Regions from separate parts of the Homo sapiens genome. Here region 2 is linked to region 1. Evidence: promoter capture Hi-C in 16 types of primary human blood cells and fetal thymus (Javierre and others, 2016). All regions are on one chromosome and are shown on one strand. Each heading gives the region's core, a stretch centred on a gene start or on the middle of the fragment in contact. The rest is flanking DNA. Distances are from core to core; before and after follow the strand shown. Region 1 holds the start of TTPAL (alpha tocopherol transfer protein like). Region 2 holds the start of YWHAB (tyrosine 3-monooxygenase/tryptophan 5-monooxygenase activation protein beta).

Region 1 (6,685 bases), core at 3,977-6,476:
GGAAAGGTTGGAGGAGGCACAGAGGAGGCACCTTTCCAGGTGTCTGCCCAGTCCGCACCCTTGCACTGATACCTGTACCTCAACCTATTCACAAAGAGGGCTCAGAGAGGGCCCTGGCAGTCATGCTTGTATCCTATGGCCAGGGGCAGATTCTTAGGCCCCACCAGATGCTCCCCACTAGAAATTGGGAATCTGCATTGAGGAACTTAATTTGGTGGTCAGGCAAACCTGAGAGCTGAGAGGGTGCCAGATTTAACTACGTGCACAGGAGCGGGACAGCCATACACAGAAAAAGTGTGAAGAAGATATGCAAAAGGCAGAAATGTGTGGCTGAAGGATACACAGACCGTCAGGCAGAGACAGGGAGAACGGCTGTCTTGGCTCCTGGTGGCATTCTGGTTCTTGGTTCTAGGCCCTAGTAAAAGCTGCCACGCCTTCAGCTCTCTGGTTCTGGGAGGGACTCCTGTCTCCTTCGACTAAATCCTCCCTTTTTTCTGAAGTTGGTTTGAGTAGGTTTGTGTTATCTGCAATCAAAAGAGCCTTGACTATAACAAAGGAGGGGTAAAAAAGGGACTTGGAAAGGAGGACAGGGTGCTGAATGGACACACTGCAGAAGGACTGGACACACACACCCCACAACAGTCTAGGGAGATACCTGGGCGGATGCAGACGACATGGCAGCCCCTGGGGTCAGTGTGGGGCAGCACGGTGAGGAACCCGGAAGCAAGGACATCTTTTAAGGCTGATGGCTTCAAGTTATTGAAGACTTCGGGCCAGCTTCTTCTACAGCTGTGGTAGTTGACGAGGAGCTGCAGGGCCCGGTCGTAATCAAACTTGCGGGCTCGGAGGAAGCGCAGCAGGAAGGCATCGTCGAGGGATGTGCTCAGGTTGGGGTACTCCTTCCGCACCATGTCACGAAGGGCCTGCACATCTCGAAGTCTCCATTCCGGCTTTTCCTGCAGCTCTTCCCGGGCTTTGGTGACCAGGTCTTCTGTCAGTGAGCACACATAGCCCGGAGGCTCAGGTGGTGGTGGCAGCTCATTTTCAGAGAGTGAGGCCACAGAAGGGCTGGTTCTCAGAGAGTCACTTTCTTCGGACATTAGCTACCAAGGTCCCTGCCAACAGAGAAGCCCTAAGCAAAGTTAACAAGTGCTTATTTCAAATCCTAGGGCAGTACAGTGTAGGGGACAGGAACACTTCTGTAAAAACCGAGTAACCTCAGGGCAGTGTTTCTCAACTGGGGGCAATGAACTGGATCTAAACCATACACGCAAGTCTGACCCCAGGCCGGCTGCTGTTAGTCCCCAGGGAGGCAGGCAGCAGCTACAGCAGACTATACACTCCCTAATAAACACCAGGGCCTTCCTTATAAATGTATTAATAGGTGCTCGACCTTATTCATCATTAAATAAATGTGAATTAAAACAACTGTAATGTATATGCTGTAATCCCAGCACTTTGGGAGGTTGGGGCAGGCGGATCACCTGACCAGCCTGGCTAACATGGTGAAACCCCATCTCTACTAAAAATACAAAAATTAGGTAGGTGTGGTGAGTGCCTGTAATCTCAGCTACTTGGGAGACTAAGGCAGGATAATTGCTTGAACCCGGGACGTGGAGGTTGCAGTGAGCCGAGATGGCGCTGCTGCACTCCAGCCACAGCAAGACTCTCAAAAAAAAAAAAAAAAAAAAAAAAAAAAACAACTCAGATTCAGATTGGCAAAAATAAACGTACTCTAATATGCTTGCTGCTGCTGGGAGTATAAATTGACAGCCTCTTTGGAGGGCATTTGTCAATATCTTCAGAATGTAAACCTACATGCCCTTTGGGTCAGCAATTCCATTTCTAGGACATATACTTGTATATATATGCATAATATGCACATGGCCTTCACAAGTATTGATTATAATGATAAAAGATTGGAAACATCTTAACTGCCTATCAGGGGAGACTGGTTAAGTAATATTACCATATTAATGGGGTACTAGTCAGTCATGAAAAAGAATTAGGGGGCCGGGCGCGGTGGCTCACGCCTGTAATCCCAGCATTTTGGGAGGCCGAGGCAGGCGACTCATGAGGTCAGGCGATCGAGACCATCCTCGCTAACGCGGTGAAACCCCATCTCTACTAAAAATACAAAAAATTAGCCGGGCGTGGTGGCAGGTGCCTGTAGTCCCAGCTACTAGGGAGGCTGAGGCAGGAGAATGGCGTGAACCCGGGAGGCAGAGCTTGCAGTGAGCCGAGATCATGACTGCACTCCCACCTGGGTGACAGAGCAAGACTCCCTCTCAAAACAAACAAACAAAAAAAGCGAAAAGTAGGCAGATCTTTATGAATTGACATATTAAAAAAGCAAGTTGCAGAATAGTGTACAGAAAATCACGTTTTTAAACTATACACATACACTTGTGAATGCACACAAAACTTCTGGAAAGAGATATAAGAAACTTACCAATGGTTATCTCTTGGAACAGAACTGGACAAGTGAAGATTTAAGATGAGAAAGAGGATTTTTACTATACTGTTTGAATTTTTTACTACACACCCATGTAACTTATCGTGGCAGTCGGGAATATGTGCCGGTCAGATCTGCTGGGAAAACGTAATTGATAAAGGGCCCCAGTGGCTGTCCCTCTAGATCCACTATCCAGGGGAAGCCAGAACTTTCCACAGCCCTTCTGTGGCCTCACTGCTCCTAGCCAATGATTTAGTGAGACATAGGACTCCTCTAACAGGCAGCGTTTGCTTGAGGGCCTGGCCAAACCTTTGTTGGGACTGCCCTGCAGTCAGAGACTTGCTGCCCAAACCTCCTTCACAGGAGCTGATCTGCATCACTGCCAGTGGCTCTTCCTGACTTCTCCAGCTCCCTTCCCAGGTGCTGTCCTTCGCAAGGGTTGCCTCTACATTTCTAGCACGTCTAACCTCATCCTAGTGTCTGCTTCTTAGAGGACCTGAACTCATGCACTTTTTTGTTTAAGAGAGAGACAGGGTCTTGCTCTGTCACCCAGGCTGAAGTGCAGTGGCGCAATCATAGCTCTCTGCAACCTCGAACTCCTAAGTTCAAGCAATCCTCCTGCCTCAGCCTCCCAGGTAGCTGGGACTATAGGCACACACCACGCCTGGCTAATTTTTAAATTTTTTCTTGGGCTGTGTGTGGTGGCTTATGCCTGTAATCCCAACACTTTGGTAGGCTGAAGTGGATGGATCACCTGAGGTCAGGAGTTCGAGACCAGCCTGGCCAACATGGTGAAACCCTGTCTCTACTAAAAATACAAAAATTAGCCAGGCATGGTGGTGCGGGCCTGTAGTGCCAGCTACTTGGGAGGTTGAAGCAGGATAATCGCTTGAAACCAGGAAGCGGAGGTTGCAGTGAGCCGAGATCATGTCACTGCACTCCAGCTTGGGCGACAGGGCGAGACGCTATCTCAGATAAATAAATAAATAAATAAATAAATAGATAGATAGATAAATAAATAAAAATATATTTTAAAAGGACCAATCTGCTGTCTTGAGAATGGACTCTAAGGGAGTGAGGACTGAAGCAGACCATTTAGAGGCTATTGCAATAATCCAGCTGAGAGATGCTGGTGGCCTGGAGTAGGTAGCCTTCACTGACCCCCAGCCAGGTTAGGTGCCTCCCCCGCACTTCTCCCACCCTGTTGCAATTGTCTGTTGGCAATTTGTGAGCAACATCCAAGTTTGTCTTGTTCATCACCTGAAACCCAGCGCCTAACATGGTGTTAGACACATAATCTGCACTCCATAAATATTTGTTGAATGACTTTAGTCTGGTTGGCACAGGTATGCTAAGTGAGGAATGGAACAACTATGGCTTTGTTTCTATGGAAGTAACCAAGAGATGCCTGCAATCCCATCAAACATCAGTGTTCACAAGGTACAAGCCTCACCTCAAAGCCCCTCTCCAGCCTCATTTTCCATCGCACCCCACCTTGATGCACATTAAATGCCAGTCAAAACAAACTAATAACCCATCATCCTTGGAATAACTCGTGCACTTCTGATACACTCTGCCTGGAATTTCCTCTTCTAATTTGTTCCTAACTTGACAGCTCAGGCTCAGCTGCCATGTCACCACCTCAGTGAATCCTTCCCAAACTCCCTGAGGGTGATTCCCTCCAGTTTTCCACAGAACTGGGTTCCTATTTCTTTTTTAGAAATTACAGTCCAATGCTATGGGCATTTATCTAGAGTCAGTTTCACCACGCACTCATTTATCAAATAATTACCGATCACCTACCATATATGTCAGGCACTGTGCTCACAGGCACTGGGAACACAGACGCAAACAATACAATTCCTTGCCTAATAAAGCTTACATTATAGTGGAATGAAGAGAATGCATACTTGAGCATTTTACCATGTATCAAGCATTGCTAAGCCCTTTACCCATTTCCTCATTTAATCTTCACGTTATTTGGTGAGAGCGCTATTACTGTTGCCATTTTACAAAGGAGGACAAAAAGGACTGTCCCCTAGAATCTAAGTTCCACGAGGGCAGAGGGCTTGTCTGCCATGTCCACTGCCACCCCCAGTGCCGGGCACATGGCAGTGGTCTGTACACATCAGCGGAGGATATAGGTTAAGCGATTCGCCCAAGGGGGCACACCCGGTGAGGCAGAGCAAGGATGCGTCTAGCCCCACCCTGGGCTTCTAATCTGTACCCTCCACCTGGAGCTTCATGTTGACTCTCCAGGGACTCAGCAGTGCCGAGCGCTCAGCAGGACTCAGTCACAGGCTGGTGAATGAGCTGACAGGCGGACATATGAGTGAGATGCAGACACCATTGGTAACGGTGAAGCCAAAGATCTCCCCCACCTGGAGCCCATCCTTTCTGGAGCATCACTTTCCTTTCCACCCCTTCCTCTCAACAAGGAGAGGTCAGGAAGCCATCTCTCCTAGAGCCCCCGAGACCCCATATCCCGTGGACAACCTTCCGAGGCCCCCACTTCCGGCTGTCACCCCCTCCCCAGGTGTCCCCATTTCCTGGGGTCTCTCGCTCCTCTGGTCCCCACTTCCGGTTATCCTTCCCTCTCAGGGGTCCCTCTCCTCAGCTCCCAGGGCACACGGATGGGCTCGCGGGCACTCACCGGCCCGACTACGGGCGGAGCGCGGGTCAATCGGCGGCGGGAGCCTCGTCCGGCAGCGCACGCAGAACCGACCCGCACTCCCTGCCCGGCCTGCCCGGCCTCTCGCGCCGGAAGTGACGATCCAGGGCGTGGGAGGCGGGGCTCCGCCTAGGAGCGCGCATGTGCGACGCCTCCCCGCGGCGTTGGTGTTCAGTCCCCACCTGGCTGCCGGAGCTCCGAGCTGCGGACCTGGAGTGGCTGGGAGGAGCTGGGGCACCAGCCGCTTGTCAAACCCGGCTTATAGATGGGGAAACTGAGGCTCAGAGAAGGAAGGAAAGAAGCTGCCATTTTCCAAGAACATGCTAACATGTACCTGTTGTTTAACATCCATGATCTCATTAACTCCTCATATTTATGCAATTCCCCTATTTCAGGAAAGGGAAACTGGCAATCAAGGCAGTAAAGGGCTTCAAACCCGGACCTCAGGATTAGCATTCTAGACTTCCCCCCACTATGGCTGCTATCAGGACTAGCTGCTCCAAAAAGGGAGACTCCAAACCAGGGGACATCTGTCTGTCATTAACTGAGTGACCTGGAGCAAGTCCCCATTCCTTCTTGTGCTTCCGTTTCCTTACCTGAAACCTGATTCTTGCTCTGGAGCCTGATTCAATAATTACTTTTTTCCTGCTTTGGGGTTCATTACGTTCCCTCCAGACAAAGGCTTTACTAACTCCCACCCCAGTCCATTAAGATCCGCCCGCAAGTATTTTGTGCAACTGCAACTTTGAGGCAAATCTCCTAGGTCCCTCTGAGGCAGAACCTCTGGTGGTCCAGGAGAACTCTGAGCCTAAAGAAACGACCTTAAACAGTCTTTTCATTTTCCTACCCCAGGGGCAAGAGGAGTCCCAAGAAGATGGGAAGTGACCCATGAGGGCCACAAGAACGTGGCAGTTTCTGCCAGATTGAGGGGCAGGGGGCAGCAGTATGGAGGCGACCTGGGAATCATGAGTTTTGACTCCTGCTCTCAGTTTCATCACTTCTAAGATTGACAGACAAAATATATAACATTCACTACAGTTTGAATTTCAGATAAACATTTAAGCATGTTCCTTTCCAAACACACACACACATACACACAGATAAGTGTGTCCTATGCAACATTTGGGACACATTTATACTTTAAAAATTGTTGTTTATAGGAAATTCAAATATGACTACTGGGCATCCTGGATTTTGTTTTGTTTGCTAAATCTATGTATTATTTTCCTGTTACTGTTACAAGGAATTACTGCAAACTTCATGGATTGAAACAACACAGATATATTCTCTTGCAGTTCTCTAGGTCAAAAGTCTAAAATCAAGGTGTTGGCAAGGCTGCATTCTTTTGGGGATTTGGAGGAAGCATCAGTTCCTTTCCTTTTACAGTTTGTAGAGGCCACCTGCATTCCTTAGCTTATGGCCCCTTCTTCAAATCACCTCAACCTCTGGCTTCTGTTGTCACCTCTACTACTGACTGATCCTCCTGCTTCCCTCTTCTTATAAGGACTCTTGGGATTACATTGGGCTCAGCCAGATAATCCAGGATAATCTTACCATCT
Region 2 (6,835 bases), core at 1-2,500, 410 kb before region 1:
GATTTTATGTTCATAGCATCATCTTGCCAAATTCCATCTCCCACACAGGGCAAGCAAAATCAGGACCTGATGCTATCTAGCCTTACCAAAGAGAAATGCAATGAAGGCAACGACAAGAAACATGTATTTTACAGAAAGGTTGGCAAATTGCTTACCAAGGCTGCCACCTCTGAAAACCCCATTATATGGGAGTTCTCCATTTGCGGCAAAGATGCACTCACCTTCCCACCTCTTCTTCCCTCCGCTCCCCACCCCCCGACCAGGAAGCCACCGGGCAAATTTCAGACCGAAAAACGTGCTAACACACAATATGGGGGAATTTGGGGTAAAGACACAAAAGAATCTGGCATTAAATGACGGTAAATACTGTGAGAAAATACTCCGATTCTCACCCCCTGATATTTTTTCCTGGGGATCCGGCCTGACTCAGTAACCGGCTCCAACAAACAGATTTTCTTGATTCAAACCCAATTCCCTTCCTAGGGAATCTTGGGTCCTGCCAGGCTCCATAACCAGTGAAGGATGATGAAATGGTTTTACTGCAAAATGGGAGGGGGTTCCCCCACTGCTGTCTCCCAAGGTTAAACCCCTTACTCATCCAGGAGGAGCCAAACACGGGGACTGGGGCTAGAAAACTCATCCGCGTTTGATTAAATTTTAATTTCTGGAAACCAGAAAGCACGGAGCAGAGGTGACAGGGCTGAAGGGGACGTTCTTGCCGACCAAGACGCAGGGAGGGGTCGCGTGGGGCCCGAAGCAGATAGTGAGGGAGGGTCCGGGATCCCCGGCTCCGCTGTCCCTTACGGCACAGTACGGAGTTGCACCCCGCCCGGCCGGCAGGACCTCAGGCGGCCCGAGCCTCTCCAAGAGGTAAAGGGCCCGGCCCCGGAAACAGGGAGGGGCCGCTGCGAGGTCTGGCCTCGCCGCCGGCGGCCGCGCGGAGCGAAAGAGGCAGCGCGCCGCTACCCCACGGGGCCCACCCACTGGGCCGCCGTCGTCGCAGCAGCCAGAGAGGGGCTTCGAGTTTGGGCCCCCGGGGGCCCCGGTCGGACCCCGCGCCGCACTCACCGTGGGAGGGCTGCAGGGAACAAAGACCCTTCCGAGCGAAGCTCCGAGCGAGATGACCTCTTCCTTCCTAAGCCCACTACTCAGGCGGCGGCAGCGGTGCCTGCAGTGGCTGCAGCGGCGGCGGCGGCGGCGACTACCCCGGCTCCGGAATCGGCGGCGGCGGTGGCGGTAGCTCCACTTCCGCTCCGATCGCCACTTCCGCTCCGGTCCTGGCCGCGCCCCGCCCCAAACCGTGTTCTCATTGGGCAAGCGAGGCACGGGGTTGCCACGGCCCCACGGGAGGGGCGCAGACGGAAGGGAGGAGGAAGAAGAGCGAAAGGCAGGGTTGCAGGGGCCGGGGCAGGGCGGATGGCCGGGGGAGGGACCCAGGAGGAGGTGGGCGGAGAAGAAGGAAATGGGGCGGGGGAGCGGGAAAAGGAGGTGGGAGGAGAGAGGGCGGAGCTGGGGGTGGTCAAGATACGGGCTGTGTGGGAATAAGGAGGACTAGGAGTGTGGTCTGGATGGGGATTGCCCTTTCTGCTGGGACTGGAAACGCGCCAGGGCCAGTCCCGGAGATTCGAGGTTTAGCAGTTCCCCCTCCACCCCGAAAGTAATCCTCACTGGGTCGGAGGCCGATGTCAGTCCTCTTACTGTGTGCTTTGGTAATGCTGGAGCCAGGGAAGAACAGAAATTGCTCATCCCTCAATGTTCATTTAATCCTTTCAATCCTTCAGGGTACTTACCTTTTCCTTCTTTGGTAGACTGAAGAGGCCACGTGAAGTGCCAGGAATCCAATGCACAAACGTCTTTTTAAAAAACCTGTGTAGGGTCGAGCGCAGTGGTTCGCGCCTGTAATCTCAGCACTTTGGGAAGCTGAGGTGAGAGGATTGCTTGAGGCCGGGAGTTGTAGGCTGCAGTGAGCTATGGTCATGCCACTGCACTCCAACCTGGGAGACAGAGTGAGACCCTGTCTCCAAAAAAAACCCACAAAAATCTGTGTACATGATTTCTTCTTTAAGATGCCCCCTCGTTGAGGAAGTTCAGGGAAGGAAACAGGCCTCCATGGCTCCCCTCCCCTCCATGACTGCTCTCACAATTACCAACATTCTACTCCTCTGAAGGTAGTTGATTTTGTTTTGTTTTGTTTTGTTTTGTTTTCTGTTTTTGAGACAGAGTCTCTTTCTGTCGCCCAGGCAGTGTCACAATCTTGGCTCACTGCAATCTCTGCCTCCCAGGTTCAAGCAATTCTCCTGCCTCAGCCTCCTGAGTAGCTGGGATAACAGGTGCATGCCACCACTCTCGGCTAGTTTTTGTATTTTTAGTAGACACGGGGCTTCGCCATATTGGCCGGGCTGGTCTCAAACTCCTGACCTCAGGTGATCCACCCGCCTCAGCCTCCCAAAGTGCTGGGATTACAGACATGAACCACCTCGACCGGCTTCAAGGTAGTTGATTTTTAAACTCAGTCCTTCAAAATGCCTCTCGCCTTCCCTCTCTCCTGTTCATTTATTCTTTCAACAAATGTTGAACAGGCTTTTTGCTTAGTGCTGGAGACACAGCAATGAACAAGGCAGGTGGGGCCCTGCTGTCTTGGAGTTTGCAGTCGGGTAGGAGAAAAAGCCAAGTAAATAGGCCTTTGCCGTCTTGCCTTTACCCTTACTTAGCTAAATGACAGACTTCTAATTCACCATTTGGTCTCAGCCTCGCCCGTCAACTGCCAAGTGATCTTTTAAAAATACCATTCTAATCGTGTCCTGTTCTTGCTTAAATTATTTAGTGTGCACTCAGACCTAGATGACAATATATAAGTTCCTTGAGTGTGACAATCAGGGTTCTCCAAAAGCTGCCCTTATCCTTTAGCTGCTATTTCTCCCCCATCGTAAATACCCCAATTCAATTGGATGATTCCTTACCCTCCCAATATGCCATCTCCAGTATTTCTAAGCAGTTTGACTTAGTTGCCAACACTTTTTTAAACTGAAAAGTTTCTGTGTGAACAGAAATCTGCCTCTCTGCCTTGTCTGGTAACACTGTGTCCACATTTCTGTGTGGCAACAATTGGCTGAAGCCAAGGAGTGGCTGCCTGTTCTAGACTGGGCATGGACTTTCCCAAATGCCAGGGACCCTTCTCGACCTGAGTCTGCTTTTGTCACTTATGTTATCTGTCATGTAGGCATGTGTGCCAGTGACCCCTGTACTGTGCCACCTTTTAAGTTGAACAAGATTGAGAACGTGTTGTGTAACGTAAACAGCATGGTTTTGGGTCAAAACCATTGGATTTGAATCCTGGAGAGGTTAGTGCAAAAACTTCCCCATGAGGATCGTCTTTGGCAGACCCTAGACCAGTAATCTAGAGACTACTCAGGCTAAGTAACTTTTAATGTCACAAGACTGTGCCTTATGCCGTCATCCAGAAAATAGCCTAATGGACCAGAGGGCTAATAATGATTATACCACAAATGACATCAACAGTGCATTGAGGGAACAGAAGTGCCCTTTGTCAGGCATTCCTAGGTGCCTGTTAAAGGGTTCAATGGATTAGCTTATTTCACCATCTCTGCATTCTAGGCCAAGCGTCAGCAAACCACAGCTATGAACTGACAGCGATACAGATAAATGTTAAAATACAATGTGGTAGGTGCAACCATAGAAATAAATATATGTGCAGGGTATTATGGGAGCTTGGGAGAAGAGCACCTAACCCATCTTGGGAATATGATGGGAGAGCAGGAAAGATTTCCTTAAAGAAGTGATACTAGAGCCTTATATACTGCAGTGAATCTTTTTTCAAATTATAGACTTAATTTTTAAAAATGTTTTTGTAGAGACAGAGTCTCATTATGTTGCCCAGGCTGGGCTCAAACTCCTGGCCTCAAGTGATTCTCCTGCCATGGCCTCCCAAAGTGCTGGGATTACAGGTGTGAGCCACTGTGCCTGGCCAATAGACTTAATTTTTTAGAACAGTTTTAGGTTTACAGAAAAATTGACCAGATATTACAGAGTTCCCACATTCCCTCTCCCTCCTCCACACAATTTCCCCTATTATTAACATCTTGTATTAGAGTGGTACATTTGTTGCAATTGATGAGCCAGTATTAATACATCATTATTAACTAAAGTCCGTAGTTTACATTGGGGTTCATTCTTTATGTTGTACATAGTTCTATAGGTTTTGACACATGCATAATGTCATGTATATAAATAAAAGTTTTACTGTCCTAAAAATCTTTGCTTCAACTCTTCATCCCTCACTCCCTCCCCTCACCCCAACCTTTGGCAACCGCAGACCTTTTACACTATAGTTTTACCTTTTCTAGAATGTCATATAGTTACATCATACAATATGTTGCTCGCTTTCTTTCTTTCTTTCTTTCTTTCTTTCCTTCCTTCTTTTTTTTTTTTTTTGACAGGGTGTCACTCTGTCACCCAGGCTGGAGTGCAGTAGTGCAATCACAGCTCACTGCAGCCTCGACCTCCTGGGTTCAAGTGATTCTCCCACCTCAGCCTCCCTAGTAGCTGGGACTACAGGCGTGTGCCACCACACCCAGCTAATTTTTGTATTTTTTATAGAGATGGGGTTTTGCCATGTTGCCCAGGCTGGTCTTGAACACCCAGGCTCAAGCAATCCTCTTGCCTTGGCCTCCTAAAGTGCTGGGTAATAAAGTGTGAGCCATTGTACCCAGCACATATGTCGCCTTTTCTGACTGGATTGTTTTATTAAGTAATGTGATTTAAGTTTCCTTCATGTCTTTTTATGATTTGATAACTTATTTCTTTTGATTGCTTAAAAAATCCCCTTGTATGAATCTACCATATTGTGTTTATGCATGAACTTATTCTTTTTTTTTTTCCAGAGAGAGTCTCACTCTGTTGCTCAGGCTGGAGTGCAGTGGCATGATCTCAGCTCACTGCAACCTCCGCCTCCCAGGTTCAAGTGAGTCTTGCCTCAGCCTCTCAAGTAGCTGAGATTATTGGTGTGTGCCACCATGCCTAGCTAATTTTTTATTTTTAATAGAGACAGGGTTTTGCCATGTTGGCCAGGCTGGTCTCAAACTCCTGACCTTAGGTGATCTGCCTGTCTCGGCCTCCCAAAGTGCTGGGATTACGGGTGTGAGCCACCACACCTGGCCCATTAACCTATTCTTAAGGATTGACTTGTATCCTCCAGAAAGATATGCTGAAGCTTTCACCCTTGGAATCTGTGTATGTGACCTTATTTGGAAAAGGGCTTTTGCAGTATAATCAATTAAAATGAGGTCATTCGAGTGGGTCCTAATCCAACGTGGCTGGTGCCCTAAAGAAGGAGGAAAATGCCATCTGAAGACAGGACACACATGGGAAACAACACATGACAATGGAGGCCGAGACTGGAGTGATGAGCTGTGAGCCAGGGAACACTAAGGATTGCTGGGCAGCACCAGAAGCCAGGAAGAGGCATGGAAGGATTCTACCCAGAGTCTCAAAGGGAGCAAGACTCTGCTGTCACACTGATTTTAGACTTCTAGCCTCCAGAATGGTGAGAGAATATGTTTTTGTGGTTTTAAGCCACCCAGTTTGTGGCCCTTTGTTATGGCAGGCTTAGGGAACTAATAGACCTACTGAGAGCTATCTTGATCCAGCTGTTGACAATTATGAAGAAAACCATGATAAACATCTGTGTGCAGGTTTTTGTTTGGGCATAAGTTTTCAACTTGTTTGAGTAAATACCTAAGAGTGTGACTGTTAGATTATACGTTAAGACAATGTTTAGCTTTGTTAGAAACTAGTAAACTGGCCAGGTGTGGTGGCGCGTGCCTGTAGTCCCAGCTACTCAGGAGGCTGAGGCAGGAGGATCGCTTGAGGCCAGGAGTTCTGGGCTGCAGTGCACTATGTTGCCTGGGCGTCTGCGCTAAGTTCAGCATCAATATGATGACCTCCCGGGAGCAGGGAACCACCAGATTGCCTAAGAAGGGGTAAACTGGCCAAGGTTGGAAACAGAGCAGGTCAAAACTCCCGTGCTGATCAGTAGTGGGATGGTGCCTGTGAATAGCCACTGTACTCCAGCCTGGGCAACACAGCAAGACCCCATCCCTAAAAAAACATTAAAAATAAAAATAGGCTGCCGGGCACGGTGGCTCACGCCTGTAATCCCAGCACTTTGGGAGGCCGAGGCAGGTGGATCACGAGGTCAAAAGATCGAGAACATCCTGGCCAACATGGTGAAACCCCATCTCTACTAAAAATACAAAAATTTGCGGGGTGTGGTGGCGCATGCCTGTAGTCCCAGCTACTTGGGAGGCTGAGGCAAGAGAATCACTCGAACCCGGGAGGCAGAGGTTGAAGTGAGCCAAGAATGTGCCACTGCACTCCAGCCTGGCGACAGAGTGAGACTCCATCTCAGAGAAAAAAAAAAAAAAAGGCCAGGCACAGTGGTTCATGCCTGTAATCCCAGCACTTCAGGAGGCCGAGATCGGTGGATCACCTGAGATCAGGAGTTCAAGACAAGCCTGGCCAACATAGTAAATGAAACCCTGTCTCTACTAAAAAAACAAACAAACAAACAAAAAACAAAAAAAATACAAAAATTAGCCACGCTTGGTGGCGGGTGCCTGTAATCCCAGCTATTTGGCAGTCTGAGGCAGGAGAATTGCTTGAACCTGGGAGGCAAAGGTTACAGTGAGCCAAGATCGTGCCACTGCACTCCAGCCTGGACAACAAACAGAGTGAGACTCTATCTCATAAATAAATAAATAAATAAATAAATAAATAAATAAATAAATAAAATAAAAAAAAAGAAAGATAAAGAAAC

The links. Contacts are between HindIII fragments. The CHiCAGO score rates a contact against its expected background, and 5 or more counts as called.
Region 2: a contact is called between the fragment with the promoter of YWHAB here and the fragment with the promoter of TTPAL in region 1, in 1 of 17 cell types (naive CD8 T cells). The highest score is 6.3, in naive CD8 T cells.

Annotation. Positions count from the first base shown.
Region 1 is chr20:44,474,415-44,481,099 of GRCh38, reverse strand. It overlaps TTPAL (alpha tocopherol transfer protein like), which reads right to left and starts at 5,226. Exons shown (of 5, transcript NM_001039199.3): 1 at 5,109-5,226; 2 at 656-1,115. The coding sequence starts at 1,100. RefSeq lists a silencer at 5,121-5,250 and an enhancer at 5,341-5,430. The HindIII fragment of the contact is 9,114 bases long and covers 4,335-6,685 here.
Region 2 is chr20:44,880,120-44,886,954 of GRCh38, reverse strand. It overlaps YWHAB (tyrosine 3-monooxygenase/tryptophan 5-monooxygenase activation protein beta), which reads right to left and starts at 1,250. Exons shown (of 6, transcript NM_139323.4): 1 at 1,069-1,250. RefSeq lists silencers at 957-1,506, 1,567-1,626 and an enhancer at 904-1,520. The HindIII fragment of the contact is 6,156 bases long and covers 1-5,232 here.